3 separate regions of the Homo sapiens genome follow, and regions 1 and 2 are each linked to region 3. The links are contacts of gene promoters, found by promoter capture Hi-C in human tissues and cell types (Jung and others, 2019). All regions are on one chromosome and are shown on one strand. The core of a region is centred on a gene start or on the middle of the fragment in contact, and the rest is flanking DNA. Distances in the headings are between cores, read along the strand shown. Region 1 overlaps ARID1A (AT-rich interaction domain 1A). Region 2 overlaps LOC101928391 (a long non-coding RNA gene). Region 3 holds the start of GPATCH3 (G-patch domain containing 3).

Region 1 (3,796 bases), core at 1,099-3,598, 190 kb before region 3:
AAAACACAAAAACTTGGATTGGCACTGACATAGGTTGCTTAATATTGCATGGTCCTTTCCCAGTATGTTGGTAGTGAGGGTATTAGGAACTTCAGACTTATTGCTGAGAGCATAGTTTCTAAGTCAGAGAGATCAGGAAATTCCAATGGGGATGGGAAATAGCCCTATGTGATTACACCAGCTAGGTACTAGGAAGAGATTTAAAAGGTAGAAACAATATCTCCTTCAGAGGCATTTAGTTTTCTTAGGAAAGCATGCTTATGTGCACACATCTGGAAAACTTGAAAAGCAAGGTTTCATAAATGGATGTAGACCACACTAATTATGTGAGCTGAAGGAATTAGAGGAAAAGGTTCAATCAGTTTGGCAGGGTTAACCTGGGACAGCTTTTCAGAGGCTTTTTTTGTGAAGCTAAATGTTCAAGAAACTTAGAATACTAATTTGCCTTTTCATAATGCTATTCTTAAGTTCCATGGGCTTGATAGAATCCACATTGCACATCCATCTCCAGACCAGTAGCTGTCTCAGTGTTCCAATGACTTTGAGAATTTGGACTCTAACCATAAAACTCCCTGAAAGAGTGGTTCCAGGGTCTTAGTGGTTCTTGTGGTCAGGTAGAGCCTTTGGTACAGACTGTTAAGTTCTTGGCTAGTTCAGGGGCACTTTTCTAGTAAATTTGGATTTGGAAGGTCATGTCACCTTCAGAGTTGTGTGCCCTGGACAGCTCTGTAGTAATGGTGGTTCAACTTTGTTGGTGAGTCTGTCTTGGCAGAGTTAGTTGACCTTTCTTAAAACAAGAGCCACGAAGTAAGTATCTGTTGGGACTCTTAGGCTGCTATTTCTGAGGAGCTGGGAGCTGTGTTCAAGTCAAGTTGCTTGTGTTAGACCTTATATTGAGGTTGATGGGTTAGGTAAGCCTGCACATATGCAGTCTGCCCATTTATTCATAGAAATGGCCTTTAATACTGTTTTTGGCCGGGCGCGGTAGCTCACACCTATAATCCCAGCACTTTGGGAGGCCAAGGTGGGAGGATTGCCCAAGCCCAGGACCAGCCTTGGGACCAGGCTATTAACATAGGGAGACCCCATCTTTACAAGACACAAAAATTGCTGGATGTGGTGGTACGTGCCTGTAGTCGCAGTTTACTTAGAAAGCTGAGGCAGGAGGATTGCTTGAGCCCAGGAGGTTGAGGCTGTTGTAAGCCATGATTACGCCAGTGCACTCCAGCCTGGGCAATGGAGCCAAGACCTTGTCTCAAAAAAAAAAAAAAAATTTGTTTTTTATTAGGTTACTATGGCCAAGCAGCTAACAAATGCTGCTCACCAATGCTTAATCCTTGTGGAGCCTCTGGAATATAGTGATTTTGGTTTCTTTACCTGCTGGTCGATCTGTGGTTGGGCCTTGGCACTTCACCGGTCAAGGATCATCAGTGGATGCTTAACAGCTGAAGATGCATGGCATGTCCAGTGCCAGGCCACTGTAATGCTTCTACCTGGAGAAGGATTGGTTACACTGCTCCAGTACAGAAGTACTGCAGACCTTTTTTTTTTTTTGAGATGGAGTCTTACTTTGTCACCCAGACTGGAGTACAGTGGTGCAATCTGGCTCATTGCAACCTCTGCCTCCCAGGTTCAAGCGATTCTCATGCCTCAGCCTCCTGAGTAGCTGGGATTATAGGCTTCCACCACCATGCCCGGCTAATTTTTGTATTTTTAGTAGAGGTGGGGTTTCATCATGTTGGCCAGGCTGGTCTTGAACTCCCAACCTCGGGTGTGATCCACCCACCTTGGCCTTCCAAAGTGCTGGAATTACAGGTGTGAGCCACCACGCCCAGCCTTTTTTTTTTTTCCCCCCCCCTCAAGTAATGGTCCATGACCTGCTGAAAGTACTGGAGTCTTGGATAAACATTCTGGTTTAGAAATACCTTTTCCACTTTTTTTGCCTTGCCATTTTGGCATTTTGCAAAAGTGGGTTTTCAGTTACTCAGAATTGGGCACCATAGTTAACCTCCTATGGATTACAGGTGTTTAGGGGCTTGAACTCTGATCATTCCCAGGTTTTAGAGGAATCCAAGTTCGGGTGAATATTGACTTAGTAGCCTTGAGTATTCTTCCTGAAATTACCCCTCCTCTCCATTTAAATGGATGAAATTAGTTTTTTACTGAATGTGAAGGGACATCTGAATGAACTTCTGTTTGTTTTTGTTAGTCACTTGTGCATAGCTGGAATATTATCTTGGGACAGGTTGAGTCTATTTCCCAGTGGCTTCTGCATTTTCTAAGGGTGGACTGGAATGGGAAGAAGTCTAATGCCAAGAATGCATTCCAACATGCTGCAGAGTAGGAAATTTGATCCCTAAAATGTTGACTTAGTGTTGGTCATGGTACATATTAGAAATCACCCAGTAATCCAGGACAGATTTTTGTCACCCTCCAGGAAGTTATGTTGATATAAATACTAAGGGGCTTTGGGTACTGAGCTAAGTGCTCTGCAGGCCCAAAGCGCTGCTTGAATTGCTACCCATATGAAGAGGAAATGTGCCATGTGCCTTTTTTTCTCTCTTTTGCATTTGGGCTTCCTTATGGCTTTGTTGCTTTTATGTTCCCAAGTCTGCAAAGTTAGATATTAGACTTCCTCCTCCCTTGGCACTGGCAGATTCATGATTTTCCATGGCTCATCACTAGCAGCCAAGATTTTTGTATGCTTTTCTCTCTTAAACTTGTTCGTTTTCAGCTTGCTTGTTTATAGGCATCTCTGTTAAAAGGAACCCTTCTTTTCCCCTTAAGATCTAGCACCAGGGGTGCTTGGGGGTTGTTGTGATATCAGTCAATTAAAAGCCCATTTGGTGTGTGCTTGGTGTTTTTATTTTGCTCATGTTTTCTTTGAGGTCACAACGTGCTTGCCGGGCATGAGTGCCTTTGGGCCCAGCTGTTTACTCTCAACTGCCGTGTACTTTGACTTTAAGAAAAGTGCAAATTCAGCCACGTGGTAGAGGGATTAAAGGCCACATAGTGTTGGATGCTTCCTTTTGGAAGAAACAGATATATCTTTGGGCTCTTCTTGCCCAGTGATTTCTCCTGTCTGGGGTAGACATTGTTGCTTTCTGTTGTCCTTAGAGAACAGGGCAGAAATGCTGGGAATTGGTTTATTACTGTGTCTCTTTGGCAAATATGTATGTCTTTTTCTCTTGCCCTTTGGACAACATTCTGTTCTGGTCCTAAGGTGTTGGAGTTCACAGGTTGATCTAGCGTTATGTGAAACTCTTGGTAATTTAGGTTTGGATAACCGGCTTTTAGTCTCCAGATTTCTAACATTGTGCTTGTTTAGGAATTTAGGCTTCTAAAGAGAACCATATTACAAAGCTTTTGGGGAACAATTCTGTAGGTAGTTTATCTGTTCTTGGGTCACAGATCCTCACCAGGATCCTGACTTTTTTTTTTTTTTAGACGGAGTCTTGCTCTGTCACCCAGGCTGGAGTGCAGTGCAGTGGGGCAATTTCAGCTCACTGCAGTCTCCGCCTCCTGGGTTCAAGGGGTTCTCCTGCCTCAGTCTCCTGAGTAGCTGGGACTACAGGCATGCGCCACCGCGGCTGGCTAATTTTTTTTTTTTTTTTTTTTTTTTTTGAGATGGAGTCTTGTTCTATCGCCCAGGCTGGAGTCCAGTGGTGTGATCTCGGCTCACTGCAACCTCCGTCTCCCAGGTTCAAGTGATTCTCCTGCCACAGCCTCCCGAGTAGCTGGGACTACAGGCGCCTTCCACCACGCCCTGCTAATTTTTGTATTTTTAGTAGAGATG
Region 2 (3,797 bases), core at 817-3,316, 130 kb after region 3:
TTTGCCTTTATGCTTTATTTCCTAAGACAGATATGTGTCACTAACGCAAGGAGATGATAGTGGGTTTTAACTTGCTTTTGTTTTTCACTATTTTGCTTCCCAGGCAGGAGGCCCAAGCCCTGACAACAGAGGTGAGAGAGGCTGTGCCAGCCCTTCTCTGGGCATGTCTGGGCTCAAGGGCCAGGCTCTGTCTCCAGTCTAGGGCCAAGCTGGGGCCTGTGGCAGGATCAGATAGAGGTGAGTGCGTTTTCTGTGAGTGACCCCATCGAGGCCTAGCCCAGAACAGGTGGGGCTCTTTCTGGGCCTGGGTGGAGATCTTTGTCACTGGGCACAGGCTCAGTTTATGACCAAGGTCAGGGCCCATCCTGGGATCAGGGAACAGGGAGAAGCAGCTCTTAGCTTCTCCCAGGACAGAACCAGCCCAGGATTCTTGTTCTAGTAGGGTGAGTTAGGCAGGCGTCTTGGAGCCCACAGGTCTTAGGCTCTTGGGCTAGAGCAGAGGCTCTGAGTGAAGGTGATGTCCCCGAGCTGAGGCCCAGGGTCTCTGACTCACCACTGGGTGGGTTTTCAGGGCAGATGAACTCCCCATCTCGACCCACATTCCCCACCTTACAGCTCAGCCACCAGGACTCTGTGAACATGACTGGCCATCTCCTTCCACTGTTCCTACTTAAGGTCCTGGTGCTTACACAAGAAAGTGGTACCACAACCAGCTCTTTCTAGTGGCAGCTGGACTTGTGGGGGCGGGGAGGGCACAGCTTCTCTAACTGTCCTCAGGGCTCTGTCCAGAGGTATGGATTCTGGTAAACTGGCTAGCTGGAAAGAATAACCAAAAGCCCTCCACCATGGTCAATTTCAGGCTACCCACATGACGCCACTACACGTGAAGTTGTGAAGAGATGTGCAGAATTGGCTCCAGCACCCCCCGTACCTGTTCCAGGACAGTCCCGTTGCCTTCCACGGGGCCCAGAAAGGGGCTGGGGTCCTGCTGGCTTGCCAAGTTAGGGTACCCTTGAGGACTTCCTGTCCTGCCCTTGTGCCTGTTGGTGTGACTGTGATTATGATTGTGGCTATAGTTGACATTGTGATTGTGATGGTTGAAGCTTCAGTTACTGGTGTGTTTTCAGTGACGGGGAGAAGAGGCCAGTGAAGTAAATGCCTCTGTCACTCAAGGGACACGGCCAGGTGCCCAGGGGTATGAGGGCCAATTAGGGCCCAGGGTCCTCAGGGCTGTGTTGTGGCTCTATGCAGGAAACTGGAAACCTGATGTGACCTAATGAACACATCTCCTGCCACTCTCCCCTTCCTCCACTGTGCAGTGATGACCTGGCCTCATGCTGCATTGAGGAGACAGGAGCCCAGCTGTGGGACGCGCTCACCTTTCCATGGTGTAATCTGTATTCCTACCTGCACCGTGCCCTTCTTCTTCTCCTTCCTGACTCACATCTGAGGTTGGGTCCCTCCTCTTATCAAAGGACAGTCTTTTTTTTTTTTTTTTTTTTTTTGAGACGGAGTCTTGCTCTCTAGCTCAGACCGGAGTGCAGTGACGCGATCTCAGCTCACTGCAACTTCTGCCTCCCAAGTTCGAGCAATTCTCCTGCCTCAGCCTTCTGAGTAGCTGGGATTACAGGTGTGCACCACCACGCCCAGCTAATCTTTTTGTATTTTTAGTAAAGATGGGGTTTCACCATGTTGGCCAGGCTAGTCTCGAACTCCTGACCTCAAGTGATCCTCCCGCCTCTGCCTCCCAAAGTGCTGGGATTACAGGCGTGAGCTACCACGCCAGGCCTAAAGGACAGTCCTTAGTGACTTCCCATTGGCTGGAATAAAATGCTGATTCTTTACGGGATGACTTTAGCCTCATCTCCCCCTTCCACCCCCGGCTCCTTGTGTTTCAGCTTCGATTGGCCCCTTTTCTGTTCTACAAGCACAACAAGCTTGTTCCTACCTCAGGGACTTGGAGCCCACAGTTGCCTCCCAGTCTCTGCGTGTCTGGTTACTCATCGTCCCAGTCTTGGCCCAAAGAGCCCTTCCCTGACCTTTCCCTCTAAAGGGGGCTCCCCAGTTACTCTCCATGTTTTCACCTTTGTTGTGGTCAGCCCAGCACTGATGGGTCACCTTGTTTACTGCAGTGTGACTTGTTTCAGGGTCTTCCCCACTAGAGTGTAAGCTCCATGAGGGCAGCGTGCTCATTGTCTGTGGTACCTGGAATCTGGCTGGTACCAGATAAATGCACATGGAATATATAGTACATGTCTGTGTTTATTTCCCCTTTGTTGTCCCTGGGCCATTGCTAACATCTTGTTTGCAGGTCCAAGCCTGGTTTCTTCTCTCCACCGGGCTCTAAAGGGAATGGGCCAAGCTTCCCCCCAACATTTGGGCCAGAGTATGAAAGAGGGGCTAGTGCTCTGCAGGTGCCCCTGTGGTGGGGGGCAGCAGAGGTTGCTGGGTGAGCTCAAGGGGCTTTGAGCCTCCTGGGGTTGAGAGGTCCGGGCGCCTCCAACTTTGATTTGCTTTTGGTACAGAGGGCAGCATTTCCTCCAGCTTCTATGTGTATCCCGGCCCCCGGGCTTCCTCTCTGAGCAGGACTTTCATTGTTTTCTGTCTGCCTTGTGCCCATTTCCTCCTTCCTCCCTCACTCCTGAGGACGAACTCCTCCTCTTATCAAAGGACAGCCCTTCCTGTCTTCCCATTACATTCAAAGCCCCTTTCTCTTTGGGGAGGAGCCCCCACTACATGAGTCTTGATGGACATCTGGGCCCTATTGCCCACTATAGAAGCTGGAGGGGACCACAGACCCCTCTTCCTACTCCCTGGCAGAGAGGACATGGGCACATAACCTGGGGCGGCCAAGGGGCGTAGCCCAGGGCTTGGAGTGAGTGATGCCAAGACAGGAGGGTAAGAATTCACTTAGAAAGGAGGCTTTTGCCAGCCCAGCCAATATGGTGAAACCCTGTCTCTACTGAAAATACAAAAAAAAAAAAAAAAAATTAGCCGGGCGTGGTGGCGCATGCCTGTAATCCCAGCTACTTGGGAGGCTGAGGCAGGAGAATTGCTTGAACCCGGGAGGCTGAGGTTGCAGTGAGCTGAGATCGCGCCACTGCACTCCAGCCTGGGTGACAGAGGGAGACTCTGTCTCAAAAAAAAAAAAAAAAGGAAAGAAAAGTGGTCTTTGGTAGCAGTTGCCAATGTGGTGTCTGATGGTGACAGTGATATCCAGATGTCTTGCAGCAGGCTTGGCCTGTCCAATGCTGTCACTTCCTTCGTTCCTGCTTTTATCTGAGCTTGGGAGGTAGTTTGAGAAGTCGCTGGTGCAGTTATGGAGGGGTGGGGAAAGCAAGATCCCTTTGGAGAGGAGCTAACAGGGTTTCCTGCCCCAGAGCTCTGCCACCACTCAGATGCCCAGAACCTGCCCCCCAAATTCCACTCTCTGAGAGTTCAGGGTTGAGCCCCCTCCCTCCTCCACCATATCTCCTGAGGCCCCTCCCACCAGGTATCCCAGCTGAAGAGGTTCTTCCCTGGGAACTGCTGCCTCAGCCCAGATTCAAGTCAGACAACAGGAAGGACTTCCTGACTGGGGGGGATGGGAGGCCCTGGACAAGGTCAGTGGGGGCATTTCTATCCCAAGACAAGGGACTGACTTCTGGAGGCCCTTTTCCAAATGACAGACAAAAAGAGCAGAGTCTTCTTCAGCCTGGCCAGGGCGGGCAGGGAAGGTTTTTAGAACAGGGTGAAGCACTTAGGGCCAAAGAGCACCAAGATTAAGAGCTCAGACTCCCTTGTTACATCCCAGCTCT
Region 3 (3,567 bases), core at 418-2,917:
GGGACTACAGGCATGCGCCACCACAACCGGCTAATTTGTATTTTTGGTAGAGACAGGGTTTCACCATGTTGCCCAGGCTGGTATGGAACTCCTGAGCTCAAGAGATCCACCCACCTGTGCCTCCCAAAGTGCTGGGATTACAGGCACGAGCCATTGCAACCCAGCCCACAATGAACAATTTAACATGCCCTGAAAGTTTTTCACGGGCTTTCAAAGCTGTGTCTTTGCAAACGCCATTTACCCTGAAACCCAGAAACACCATTCTCTCCTATTAACTCCTATTTATTTTTCAAGACCCAGATGGAAAGCCACATTTCATGATCCATCTAGGAAGTTAGTTTCTCCCTTCTCTGTCATCTCACAGCACTTGGTGATAAACAGTATAGGCTCTGGAACAGATGCCTAGGTTTGTTGTAGCTCTGACACTAACTAACTCTGTAACCTCAGGCAAGTCACATAACTTCGGCTTCCCTCAGTTTCTTCACCTATGAAATGGGAGAAACAACAGCTCCTATCTCATAGGACTGTTGAGAGGGGTAAGAAAACAAAAGGCTTAGAACAGCGCCTACTAAATACAGAGTGCTCAGTGAATGCTAACAATTAGAATGACATCTCTGTGGCAATAACCTTTTTCCAAATGTCTTCCTTTGTGGATTCTGAGCACACACTATGTCCAACTGTTCTCTGCATACCCAGCTAGTCACACTAGGTCTAGCAATGTAAGCATTTGTTGAATGTGTGAACTGGAGGGCTCTGCACTGTCCTGTTTCCCCATCAAACTGATTTCCCATGAAAGTGGGAGCTGTCCAGAGAAAAGATTGTCTCTTCATTTGTATCTTACTGAAAGGACTGGGTAGGAAGCACAGAGAGAGCAGGAGAGAAAGACAGTAAAAGGGTTAGAGACTGGATTTCCTTTTTTCTTTCTGTGTTAGTGCAAAATCAACCCCTTGGATAGAGAAAGGGTCTCAAAAGGGACCTAACAAAATGAAGGCTCTTCCGAATAAGCCTCTCCGGTTTATTTTTCTCCATGTATTGGACTAACTCCCTGCAAGTTGAGCCTGAAGCTCTGTCTAGAATATGAACTAAACTCATAGAGTCCTAACCAGAGGCCTGACTTATCCTCACCACTCCTCTGAAAAGGTGCCTCTGTTCCAGGCCCGTAGGCCCAGTCTATTAACTTTCTCACTCTTACCTGATGCCTCCGTAGGTAGCCGAAGTCTGCGGATGAGACAGCGACCCGGTAGCCAAGTCCCGTGAGAATCCAGCCACCGGCGGCCCGAGTACATGCGAATAAGCCTCTGAGCTTGAGCCAACCCCCTTACCGAGATGACGCAGCAGCAGGTGCGGGTCTGGATTGGAGTAGAGTCTCGAGTGGAGAGAGGCCGGACATCGGTGGCCGAAGTCTGAGAGAGAAGCTGGCCCTCAGCGGCTGGGTCGGTAGGAATTAGGGCAGAGTTAGGAGCGGCCTGCGGAGGGGCCCGCTCAGGCCGATGCCGGTAGTGGAAACAGAGGAAGCCACCGCCGCGCTCTTCTCGGAACTGGCTAAAATAGCTCCGTAAATGGGCCGAGCGCAACACGGAGGGGATACCGCTCACTACCAGGTAAACTGTCGCCTCCTCCTCCGCCTCGCCGGGCACCGCCATCTTGGATTGTCACATGATCAGCTAGAACCAAGTCTCGCGAGAACACCGCGAGCAACGTTCCAGCCCCTGCGTTGCGAGATTGTGAAAATTCTAACTAGTCCTTTGGGATTGGGGTTGTGGAACCTGGAGCTGGAAGATCCGAAGTCTTCTGTGTTCCTTTCCCACAGAGGGAAGCCGGCGATGATGGAAAAACTCACCTGGAAAATGGGGTCATAGAGTTCTTTCATAAAGCTCTCATGAGGACCAAATAAGAAGCCTGCGGGAGGGGTCATTTTTGAGGTATTTAGTTGTGGATATTGCACACCTAATCTCAACCTTCCTCAGTTCTGAACCTTTAGTCGTTCTTCCATTTATTTTTCCAAAATGTGTTGATGAACTCCCACAAATCGGTAAGAAAAAGATAACCCGGTAGAAAAATGGGCCGAAGATACTTCGCAAAAGAGGAAACACGCAGGTCCAATTTACAATGAAAGTGCTATGAGTTACTAGAGGCTTACGTTAAAGAAAAGATGCACAACTCAATAATAAAAGAAATGCAGCGAGACCCACTTTGCATCCACTATGTTGGCAAACTTTAAAACCTTAGAGTCGATGACAACATGGTGGAACTGAAGCTCTCATACACTGTTGGTGGAAATGTAAGTTGATACAACCACTTTGGGAAACAATTGGCGTTATCTAGTAAAAGCAAAGCTACACATCATTTGACTCAGCACTTGTAGGTAATATTTTATTTATTTTTGAGTTGGGGTCTCGCTCTGTCGCCCAGGCTGGAGTGCTGGGACCACAGATGCAACCCACTATGCCTGGCTAATTTTTTAAACTATTTGTAGAGATGGGGTCTCACTGCATTGCCCAGGCTGGTATTGAACTCCAGGGCTCAAGTGATCCACTGGCCTCAGCCTCCCAAAGTGTTAGGATTACAGGTGTGAGCCACGGTCCCCGCCTTTTTGTCTTTTTTTTTTTTTTTTTTTTTTTTTGAGATGGAGCCTCGCTCTGTCATCCAGGCTGGAGTGCAATGGTGCGATCTCGGCTCACTGCAACCTCCGCCTCCCGGGTTCAAGCAATTCTCCTGTCTCAGCCTCCCGAGTAGCTGGGACTACAGGTGCGTGCCACCACGCCCGGCTAATTTTTGTATTTTTAGTAGAGACGGGGTTTCACCATATTGGTCAGGCTGGTCTCGAACTCCTGACCTCAGGTGATCCACCCGCCTTGGCCTCCCAAAGTGCTGAGATTACAGATGTAAGCCACCGCACCCGGCCCTCTTTGTACGTTTTTTAATTGGGTTATTTGATTACTATTGATTCATTGATTCATAATTCAGACAAAGTCTACACATTATACTGGGTGATAGGAGGAACCTGTAGATTGAGAGACCTCAAACAAAAGCAAAAAATAAAGGGCCAAGCTCAGTGGTTCACGCCTGTAATCCCAGCACTTTGGCAAGCTGGTGTAGGAGGATCCCTTGAGCTTAGAAGTTTGAGACCAGCCTGGCCAAGTTGGCAAGACCCTTGTCTAAACAATAAAAAAAATGACTGCACATGTTTATCAGAAGACTTATTGATAATGTTGACTTTTACCCAAGCCCTGTGATCCTGGAAAACTAAGGCTTAAGAAATGCCTTCCCACTGTTTTGTGTTCTGGAACACAGCATATTGCAAAAAAACATCCTTCCCCAAGTGAGTTAGGTAAGACTGGTGTATGCCCCTCTGGTTCACCAATGACAAAGCCAGACACAGACTCCATATTCCAAATCTCCTCATGAAAGCTTTGAGGAACTTCTTGTCCCCACTGATCAGTTGGAACAAACTTTGGTTAAAACTTCTCTCCTTCCCCCAGCTTCCCGAACTTTGGCTTACCCTCAGCTTGAGCCAGCGCACATCTCCTCCTTAACAGCCTCTCCTGAGAATAGGCTGGCTTCAAG

Evidence for each region. Contacts are between HindIII fragments. The study calls those that stand out against the background at their distance.
Region 1: a contact is called between a fragment that was not itself captured here and the fragment with the promoter of GPATCH3 in region 3, in 1 of the 25 tissues and cell types used here (lymphoblastoid cells).
Region 2: a fragment that was not itself captured here is called in contact with the fragment with the promoter of GPATCH3 in region 3 in 1 of the 25 tissues and cell types used here (neural progenitor cells).

The regions. Positions count from the first base shown.
Region 1 is chr1:26,703,603-26,707,398 of GRCh38, forward strand. All of the region lies in intron 1 of ARID1A (AT-rich interaction domain 1A), which reads left to right. Among named protein-coding and RNA genes, the nearest start is that of ARID1A, 9.5 kb to the left of the region's middle. RefSeq lists a silencer at 396-690. The HindIII fragment of the contact is 8,241 bases long and covers 1-3,796 here.
Region 2 is chr1:27,033,357-27,037,153 of GRCh38, forward strand. It overlaps LOC101928391 (a long non-coding RNA gene), which reads left to right. Exons shown (of 8, transcript XR_007065559.1): 2 at 104-237. Among named protein-coding and RNA genes, the nearest start is that of TENT5B, 22 kb to the left of the region's middle. RefSeq lists an enhancer at 1,550-2,051. The HindIII fragment of the contact is 4,027 bases long and covers 54-3,797 here.
Region 3 is chr1:26,898,800-26,902,366 of GRCh38, forward strand. It overlaps GPATCH3 (G-patch domain containing 3), which reads right to left and starts at 1,668. Exons shown (of 7, transcript NM_022078.3): 1 at 1,193-1,668. The coding sequence starts at 1,643. It also overlaps a transcript of NUDC not described here. RefSeq lists an enhancer at 1,613-1,732. The HindIII fragment of the contact is 3,671 bases long and covers 276-3,567 here.